Linked DNA regions of Homo sapiens: all the other regions are linked to region 3. Evidence: promoter capture Hi-C in 16 types of primary human blood cells and fetal thymus (Javierre and others, 2016). All regions are on one chromosome and are shown on one strand. The core of a region is centred on a gene start or on the middle of the fragment in contact, and the rest is flanking DNA. Distances in the headings are between cores, read along the strand shown.

Region 1 (3,048 bases), core at 293-2,792, 630 kb before region 3:
CATCTTTGCTGCATTCATCAAAGCCCAGTGTAAATTCCCCTCTTCCATAAACTGAGGAATCCAGCCCATTTTACATAGCAAACTTTCTCTTAGCTGCTACCTACTCAAAGTTTGGCTGCACATTTTAGCTATAATTGTTCTCAAATTGTTTCAAGAGTGCTAGTTTTCTTTCTTAGGCTCCAGGTTAGCTCCTTGGGAGCGGGGACTTAGCTTAAAATCCTGCTGTGTATTTTCCGTTGTGTTTAGCCCTATGAGTAATCACATTCAATGCATACTTGTAAGGCATATTTGACTGAAGATATCTATCATAGTTATTCATTTAGTAAATGATATAATGAAAACTCAAGTGCTCGCCAAAGATAAATCATTACTATTAATTCCCTCATTCATCATACATGTATGGCAGCCTCAGGGGCTAGGGAACCTAGGATTGCTGCTTTGACTTTTTTTGGGGAAGCCAAATAAGCCTCAGATCTCTCCACTTTGGAGCCAGCCATGAAATTCAGATTTACCTAGGGCTCAACATTAAGGGTCTCAGACTAAATTTATCTTCAGGTACCCTTTCCAGAGTGGACCAGTTTACCTTATACCTCTGAGAATAACCCAAAACTTTCAAAACTCAAATCACAGGATATTATTTGTTCATGAATTCAGCAAGACTCTCTTGTTTAACTATTGAAACTCAAATATTTCGGCTTGCAGCAAGGAGGGGTACAGCTGTCTGGATATACCTTGGCCAAATTTCAGTGTATATAGAAAAGTGGGAGGTTATCGACTATGTTAAACCTTTTCCTTAAATTTTCAAACTTCGGGATTATTTTAGTCTCATAGATAAAATAACAAGGCAAGTATTTACAAACTTTTTTCAAAAATATGAGAATTTCAGTTTTCCCTAGGGCATTTGGCGTTGTGCTGTCACCACACTTTTGAAGATAGCTTTACAACCGTGGGAAAACTCACCGGGCTTTTTTCGTTGACCCCGCCATTTCTAAGTTGCTATATTGCTGCAAGGAGCTGGCAAAGCCATGCTCTTCCTCTCCCCCATTCTCCTCTTCCTTTCAAAGACCAAAGCGCCCCGTGAGAATATAGAAACAAGGCTGAGAGGCAGCGAAGAGTAAGGGAGGAGCCAGCACTTACGCATTTTTCACTCTCCTCCTCACTCCCTAGGGTCATAGTTTTGATTCTGAAGTTAGAAGTGTGGGGGTCGTCGGCTGCATTTTCAACTTGGCCTAAAAGTTGGAGTTCACCACACTGCAGGCGCTAGGAACTCTGCCGCTCGGTCACCAACCTGAGCCTCTGGCTAGTCCGAAGAACGCGAAAAGCCAGGCCCAAGGCACTGGTTGTCATGGCAACCGGGGCGCTGGTCTCCCTGGCGACCTCGTCCCTAGGGAGGAGGTGGAGCTGGATGCCAGGCGGGCCAATGAGGTCGAGGGGAGCTCGGGGTGGGAGATCTGCGGTCCTCCCAGTGCCGGGGAATGGTTGAGTGACAGGACCGGGGGGGCGGAGCCGGCGCGGCTGCCCGAGGTGGAGCCCCAGTGGTGCGAGTAGCTCCAGCGGCCACGCTGAGGCGAGGGTGACACACCATGCTCACGGCCCCTGGAGACCGTCGTGCTGGCGAGCCGTGCTCCGTAGCTCCCCGGTCCGCCTCGGCAGCGGTCAGAGTCGCCTACAGGAGTTGAGCCGCCCGCGCCAGAAGGTTTTGGCGAAGCTCTTGGAGAGGCGTCGAGCACAGTAGGGCGGCGGGGGTGCGTTGAGCGCTCGGGGGTCAGGCAGTCGGCCGGGATCGCCGCTGGGGAGCGTTTCCGAGGCGAGGAGGAGGAGGAGGAGATGCTGCTCCTCTTCTCCCCCTCCCCAGGCTCCTTCTACAGCTCCTTCAGCCCACGCCCGCAGCCGCTTGTGGGAGAAGTGGTGGTGGCTCTCGGCGCCCGCGGCGGCTGCCGGCGGCCCGCCCCGACGCCGCGTCCCTGCAGCCCTCGCCCGGCGCTCCAGTAGCAGGACCCGGTCTCGGGACCAGCCGGTAAGGACGAGAGCCGCCCTGGGCTCTGCGCTGCATGTGCAGAAGTGCAAAACAAAGTACATTGCGCTCGTTCTCTTCCTCCTCTCTCTGCTTTCGCTCCAGTCCCTAAACCCAACTCCTCGGTTGCCCTGGTAGAAGGAACTTTTCTTTGGTTTTGGTGGTGGGTGTTTTTGTACGTTAGAGTGGGGGTGGGGTGACTGGAGTGGGGAAGAATGAGATGAAACTCCATTGCTAATTAGGTAGATCCATCTCCTCTGCGGAAGAAAGCCGGATTCTCGGGAATGAAACCCACAGGGGGAGTAAGAGATTGTGGGGTAATAGGGAGTGACATTGCCCCGTCGTGCTTGCACAGCTCCGCTCTGTGCGTGCTTAAGGGAAGGGCTCCCGGAGTCTGTTTCTAATTTCTGCAAATGATTGTGGAGATGGTGTGGTTAGAGGCCGCCCAGAAGAATGTGTGTGTAAGGGCTCGAGAAGGGGGTGGGATGGCGGGGAAGCAGAGGAAGAGGGGGCAGAGGGAGAGACACTGTCTGATGCAAGGTCTTTTATTGCTTTTCTTCTGCTTGCTAAAGTTAACACTCTACCCTCCGGCCCCCTAGCCCCACCGCTTTGCTCATTACGTGATACTGTAAGAGCAGACAGCTGGGAAGCTAAAGTTAAACCAAAGTCAAGAAAATTCTTACAAAGTTTAATTTCCTTCTGTTGTGAATATAATGGAGAGAGGAGGATGGGGAGAAATATCACTAAGAGATTTACAGCAATACAGTTTTCATTGGCCATACACGTATATGATCGACACCACCGCACACTTCCAACTAATCTGTTCGACAGCCTTGTGTCATTTTCATTTAATTGCATCTTTGAAACAACAAACGCGGTGACTTCATAGGGAGCTGCCTGGAGCTGAGCTCCCTCGCAGAAAATGGGGCAATCGGGTTTGTTTTCAAGGCAGGACCTGAACAAAATGTAGGACACCTGATCTGTGGGATGAAGGGCGCTGGTAACTAATTATAAATTTTAAGATTTTAAAATTT
Region 2 (3,282 bases), core at 305-2,804, 860 kb before region 3:
TCCAGCCCCTAAAATCTAATGGTTCTGAAGTGGAGTCAGAAGCTTGTGATATACTTATATATTTATTTGTTATATATTTGTAACATATATGCTCACCTAAAGTAGAAAATTCACAGAAGCTTCTCTGAGAGAAATGGTCCTTACTGCAACTATTTTAAATATGTTGATAAGCATTCTGTGTTATCTTCCAGGGTCCGACAACTAGCCGATGAGGGATAGAAGGAGATATTGGATGTTGTGCTGGCAATGCCTGGTGCACTTACACTCGTTTTCCTTCCACCTGAACTGTAGTCTATCCCATATGACTTAGCCTGCTTCCTTGCAGTTTGTTCATAAAAGTTATCATCAACATGGCCAGAAGCAGGCAGGGCTGCTGTACAGACACTGTCAGGCTCTGCACCAAAGGCAGCCCATGTAAACAACCTTGTGATTGCTTCAGAGCCTACTGCTGTGGCATAAGCCATTCTTTTTCTGTGGCTAAATTGCAGTACCCTGGGAAGTTATCTGTTTAAGGGGGTAAAAGCAGAGACTAGGTCTCTAGATTTAAATGTTTGGGGAGGGTGAGAAAAATATATGGATAGATAGTTTTCTTGTAATATCTATAGCCTGATTTACTTACAGATTTTCCAGTAAATTACATTTATTTTGTTGAAGGCACAAATACATAGATTCTAACAAATATACTGCCATACTTATTTCTGATTTTTTTTTCAAAAGAGCTCTGACATTTGCAGGGGACACAGTATCCCAGCACAGAATACCTGGGAATCTTGCCATGAAAAAAAGAAAGCTGACTGCTGTGACTAGGAGATCACTTTCTTAAAGGGACCCCTTACCTATTTGACTGCAGTGCCAATGTTTCCTCTTATCTCTAACCTGACCCCTGTTCTGTGTTCCTCTCCCCGGCTCAGATTTAGCCTAGAGTTGCTCTGCAAGAGTAACGCCAATAGTTTTATATCTAATATATATATAAATACTGTTCCTTAGTAAAATACATCTTAAAATATTTAAATTATACTTCTCACAAAAGTAAACATAAATACATACTAAAAGACATTATTTTTAATGTTTTATGGAACCCATCACATTTTTCAGATATGGAACTAAGGTCAGCACTTCTAACAAGCACAGCTGTTTGGTGTTTTTTTTTTCCTCTCTCTCTCTCTCTCTCTCTCTCTGTGTGTGTGTGTGTGTGTGTGTGTGTGTGTGTGTGTGTGTGTTTCTCTCTCTCTCCCTTCCCTTCTGTAGCCCTGCATTGGTCTAAAAACCCCTGGTCACAATAAGAATGCTCCCTCCCTCCCTCTGCTACCCCTCACTCCAAATGGAAAGGTTTCAACACGCCCAAGTCTGGAAAGAGATGTTCTGCACAGAGGGAAAAACTGGTAGCTTCTTGCTTCAAAGCTAGTTCACTTGATTAACCTGCTTTCCACCCCACCTCTCTCGTCTCTTCCATACTCCCTCTCCCGCCCCACCAGGAGCAATCAATAGACATCACCCCACCCTCCAAAAACAGGTTAGAACCCAGAACGAGCAAAGAGCCACCTACCATTCCGTGCCTGAGAACTACGATCCTGATCCGGCAGTGTTTGCCCCAGAAATCCTCCCTACTTGTTTTTCATTAACCACATTCCAGACTAACATGGAAGAGATTCTTTGGAGATATGGAGATTGTTTAAAATTAACGATGGACAGGTGATTTCCAAGAAAACCCAATCTTAAACTCACTCAAGCCCCTAGGAATTGAGGGGTGAGGACAAAAAAGGAAATTTGTAAAAATGAAAAAAGAAAAGAAAAAGGTAAGCATATAGCAAGCACCACCCACCCCCATAAAAATAAAAAGTGAAGGGGAGGTTAAAGAAAATAGAAGAAGAGTGGCTTGCTGAATCACCCTCTTTCACTGCCTGGAAACCATTGTGCAGCGTGATGCTGCCTGTACCATTGTGGAACCTACCAGAGGAGACGGACAGAGGGCTTGGGGAATGGGGTTGCTATGGCAACCGAAAGGAGCACACATGACGTCAAAGCCCAGAGAGGTCTAGGGAGGGGGATGAGGGGGAAACAGAAAGAGGAAGCGTCTATGTGCAGCTACAGCTACTGTGTTTTCCGGTGAAATGAGGACCAGGCAAATGTAAAGGAATAAGGTTCGTCGGCAGCCAACATCAGCAACTACGACATCAAGGCAGCCAGCCTGCACAACCTGAAGAAAAGATCCATTCGATGCAGTTCTGGCCCTTTGCACAGCAGCACGGAGGAGCAAATACCAGCAGAGCAAAACACCACTGGAAATGCAACCTCTGCTTTTCAACTATCTCTTGTAGTATCTCTAAACGTCAAACAAGTAAGAGATGGTAATAACCTCAGAGGAGAAGCAGGCATTTGAGTGTCGCCTGAACCCCGAGGTCATCTGCACAGCACTATTCCTCTTCTCTGTTTCCTTGTTTTTGTAAAAATCCTGAATAAATATCCACTAAACCAAATTCAACAGACTAATACTTAGGTTGCAATCTGAGTGTACAAAGAAAATACTGATTAATTTGAGTTAACACATCAGAATTCTTTTTTTTTTAATTGCAGATAATTTTCTAGAGAACTGATGAAAATTGTACTGTTACTATTTGGGGCAAATATCGCAATTTTATTTCAGTAATTTGCTCTGCCTTTAACTGTTATAGGGTATTTTTAAAGTCTCCAAACAGTTTTACTATCCATAAATAATAGTTTCTTAGAATGACAACAGTTGACTACTTGCACTATAAAAAAAAATTAGGTTTACCAAATTTGTTTTACCTTTTTTATGTAAGAAAAATTTTCAATACAAATTTCGCTTAAACCAACTCCAGCCTTTGGACTTCTCAAATTACGTAATCTAATTCAATTCCTTTTTTGCTTACACTCTTTTGAGGTGGGTTTCTGTTTATTGCTACCAAGTAGTGCTGAGTTGTAAATGATTCCACATTATGTTTTAGAACTAGCATACTTATATGAATATGAAGCTTCTTCCATATGTTACCAGAAAGATACAACATGCAAGAGATGCAAACTCAGCAGTACTGTAGACACTGAAACACATCATAAAGCTGTAAGAAACGCATACGTTTTTGTTGTCTTTGTTGTTGCTGCTGTTGTTTTATTTGGGGAGAAAATTTAGAAAAAGGAAGGCTTGAGTGAGTTGTATGTCATTGTAGTTCATTGGATAAGTGTTTGGATGTCCCTTTACTCTAATTTCAATTTCAACAAGAATCAATCAAGACTATCTTCTAGTCTTCTCAATGGGCCTACCTG
Region 3 (3,396 bases), core at 337-2,836:
CGGCCCCTGAGACACCTCTTTTTATATTTAGGCTTACGCAATTTTGGTATCTTGAAAGCAATTTTTTTAAAAAGTGACGAAATAAATAAAGTGACTAAAAGTTTGAAGTTTGAACTGGGTCAGTTTGACAAATTAAGAAGGGTGCCAGGAGGAAGTCTGAGGAAAAGCAGCAGCTTAATGCCACCGCCATCTCCAAGCAGCGTTCCAGGCGCCAGCACTGTTAGCAGCAGTCCTCTGCGTACCCAAGAGTACCGCAGGGCCAGAACACGAGAAAGATGCGCGAAGAGGATTTCCTTCTAGAGAGAGAATAAAGAACACCAAGAGTCCAACAATTACCATCTTGTATAGGAGAAAAACAATGCAAAGGAAAAAACGTGCAACCAGCAGATAAAATACTTATGTCAACCCAGGTTCTAAGGACCTTTTCCCAAAGTATCCCTCTAAACTGGTAACATTAGCTTAGGGCAGAGTCAAGAAGAAAGTTATGCCATTAACACAGATGAAAATACTGAACGTTTTCTATGAAAAGTCACCCGATTAAACACTGCCAAGAGGGAAAAACAGTGCAAGTCCAGTAAAGCACGAGACACGTAGAAAATTCAAGCTATGTAGCCAAATCGCTCTCTCTGAAGAAAACAGCAAGCCAACTGAACCCAGCACGGAGTGGAAGGCGTAAAGAGCTGTCATCGTGGCGGTAACAACTCCACCGGGCGGCTGAGCGTCTAGAAAGAGGCTGCGGTTCCTGGTTCCACATCAGGAGGCACTCTCCACAAGGTCTACACCGCCGCTCCCGGGAAGGCACCTCCAGGGCGGCCAGCAAGCCCCCCGAGTGGGGACAGGCAGTGCCTTCCTCGCCTCGTCCCCGCGCGGCGTGGCCCGGAGGTGGCCCACTCGCCCCGCCCCCGCAGGCCGCGGCTCCAGGGGGCGTCCGGCCGCCCTCCCGGGGCCCCGAACCCGCGCCAGCCGCACCGCGCCTGCCCTCTTCCTGGACCCCGCGAAGCACCTGCCTGGGCCCCTCTTCGAAAGACTGGGAGGAAGGAGTCAAGGAGCTGCCGGGGAGGCTGACAGAGCCAGAGGCTGGAGCTCCCCTACGGGAGCCGGGAGCATAACCCTGCTCCTCCCGCCAATGGGGGCGACAAAAGCCGTGGAAGGTTGCTCAGGGGCTGGATCTCCTGCTGTCCGGGCCCCAAGCCCTCTCAGCTGTGGAGTTTCGGTTGGTGCACGAGGGCTCGAATTTCCTCCGCACACCGGAGACCCAAGACGGGACGGTGTTGCGACTTGGGGGCTGGGGTGAGGGAGGGCTCGGCGCGAGCGGACGGCACCGCACAAAGGAAGAGGGGACTGAGGGGAGACGAGGGGACTGAGGGGAGACGAGCGTCCCGTTACCTCGATCCTCGACCCTGTTCTTCCTGATGTCGCTAAGGTTGCAGCCACGTTACCACGCTCCCAGAGCCCCGGCCGCCCTCAGCGGAACCTCACCAACCCCGCGCGAGCACCCGGCGGACGCGCGCTCTCCTGCGCGGCCCCGCGGAGCCCCGGCGGGCGCTTGGCGTCCTCTCGCCTCAGCCCCCGCGAGCCGCGGCCTCTGGGGGCGGGGCGGGCTGGGCGGGGCTGCGCACGGCACTCTGGGAAGTGTGGTTCTCGGGACCTCCTCCCCGAGGCCACCCCCACGGCCTCGCCCCCGCGGCTCCCTAGTGGGCGGCCGGGTCTCAGGGACTGGGCAGTGTTGCCCGGCCTGGTGAAGGCGGACCAGGGCGTGGCGGAGGTCCCCATAACAAATCTTGAAATAAAACACTGCCTAAATACCTTTGAGCTTATCCATGCTTCACTTCTGCGGCGGTACAAAATTTAGTTTCTTTGTATGTCCATCAAATCCCCTTCTGCGGTTGTGAGTGTTCCTGGGATTTATGTCTTTGAAAAAAGAAGGGGAAAAAAAGGTTTGCATTTATTCCTGTGTCACTTTCACCACGTGCTCTACAAAGGATATACAAAACAACTGTGTTTATAAATACACACCCACAGTTTGTAAACCTAAGGAAGCAGTTGATTGACCTGAGAGCTCGCTGCTAAAAAGCAGTGCAAGTGGCCATGCGCGGTGGCTCACGCCTGTAATCCCAGCACTTTGGGAGGCTGAGGCGGGCGCATCACGAGGTCAGGAGTCGAGACCATCCTGGCCAACATGGTGAAACTCCGTCTGTACTAAAAATACAAAAATTAGCTGGGCGTGGTTGTGCGTGCCACCAATCCCAGCTATTCGCAAGGCTGAGGCAGGAGAATTGCTTGAACCCGGGAGTCGGAGGTTGCAGTGAGCTGAGATTGTGCCATTGCACTCCAGCCTGGCGACAGAGCAAGACTCCGTCTAAAAAAAAAAAAAAAAAAAAAAAAAGCAATGCAAGTAAAAGTGCTGTTGAAATGAATTAATTTTTCTATAATGTCAATAAAGTGGAATGTGTGAGGCGGGAGATCAAGAGACAGCAAAAAAACAAAATTTTTTTTAAAGAAAGATATTCCCCTAAATGTGTCTTTTGCCAGACTAACCTCAAACTTTCACAATCCTAGGAGTCTATTTCAGAATAAATTTAATCCTAGGACCTTTATTAATATTAACACATATGAACATTAGCACATTGATTTTAATAGAAATGAACATATATATATCTGTATATATATATGCATCTTCTATAAAAACCCCAAAGCAACTATTTGAATTTGAAATTTTATTTCTAGAAAAAAAATCACATTTTTTACATTGAAATATAAATAATTCTTAATATTTCAAAATATTCCTCTTTAGAGCATTAGTATTTTGCACATTTAATGCAAATACCTTTAGAAAAATAGAGTAAGATGAGTTTTAAAGAAGTATGCAGTGAAGAAAAGTCATAAAATGTGTCTGGAACGTGATGTAAAAATTGTTGGGACTCAGAAATCGATACCCCAAAATATGGTGCTTTGCCGCGCTGAACTGAGGAAGCAGCTTCAAGGTGTCTCTTACCTTCCCCATTACCCCTCCTGCCTCTCAATTCTTTGTCTCTCCCAAAGCACCAAATGATGTCGTTCTCTGAATTTCCCTTATCTGCCTAGAAACTAGACCTGCCAAAGAGGAACATATTTGCCTTACCTGATTTTTCATTTACTTAACTCATATTGGAGGAAGAAAGACTGAAGTCTGTCAACACTCTTGGACAGACTTTTGTCACAAACTATTGTCTGCTGTATGGGCTCAACACACTTTTTCCCAGGCCATTGTATGTTCCCCATTTTCCCCTAAAAGTCCTTTACTATACCTTAAGTTGCCACATTTCCCCAATCTCCCTTTCCCCCATAAAGAAGAGTATATAAACGTCTCTACCCCATTGAGTCATTGGGTAATCATTCTCCTGAAATCTCCCTGTG

What was found. The method cuts DNA at HindIII sites, captures the fragments that hold promoters and counts their contacts. A CHiCAGO score of 5 or more calls a contact.
Region 1: the fragment with the promoter of PTPN13 here is called in contact with the fragment with the promoter of KLHL8 in region 3 in 1 of 17 cell types (erythroblasts); the score reaches 6.0 in erythroblasts.
Region 2: a fragment that was not itself captured here is called in contact with the fragment with the promoter of KLHL8 in region 3 in 1 of 17 cell types (monocytes); the score reaches 6.2 in monocytes.

What each region holds. Positions count from the first base shown.
Region 1 is chr4:86,592,773-86,595,820 of GRCh38, forward strand. PTPN13 (protein tyrosine phosphatase non-receptor type 13) reads left to right here and starts at 1,543. Exons shown (of 48, transcript NM_080683.3): 1 at 1,543-2,017. It also overlaps a transcript of MAPK10 not described here. RefSeq lists an enhancer at 1,194-1,780. The HindIII fragment of the contact is 4,151 bases long and covers 1-3,048 here.
Region 2 is chr4:86,358,112-86,361,393 of GRCh38, forward strand. It overlaps MAPK10 (mitogen-activated protein kinase 10), which reads right to left and starts at 1,942. Exons shown (of 14, transcript NM_138982.4): 1 at 1,547-1,942. The HindIII fragment of the contact is 2,874 bases long and covers 118-2,991 here.
Region 3 is chr4:87,219,032-87,222,427 of GRCh38, forward strand. It overlaps KLHL8 (kelch like family member 8), which reads right to left and starts at 1,587. Exons shown (of 10, transcript NM_020803.5): 1 at 1,387-1,587. RefSeq lists an enhancer at 589-1,201 and silencers at 707-976, 1,317-1,806. The HindIII fragment of the contact is 8,812 bases long and covers 1-3,396 here.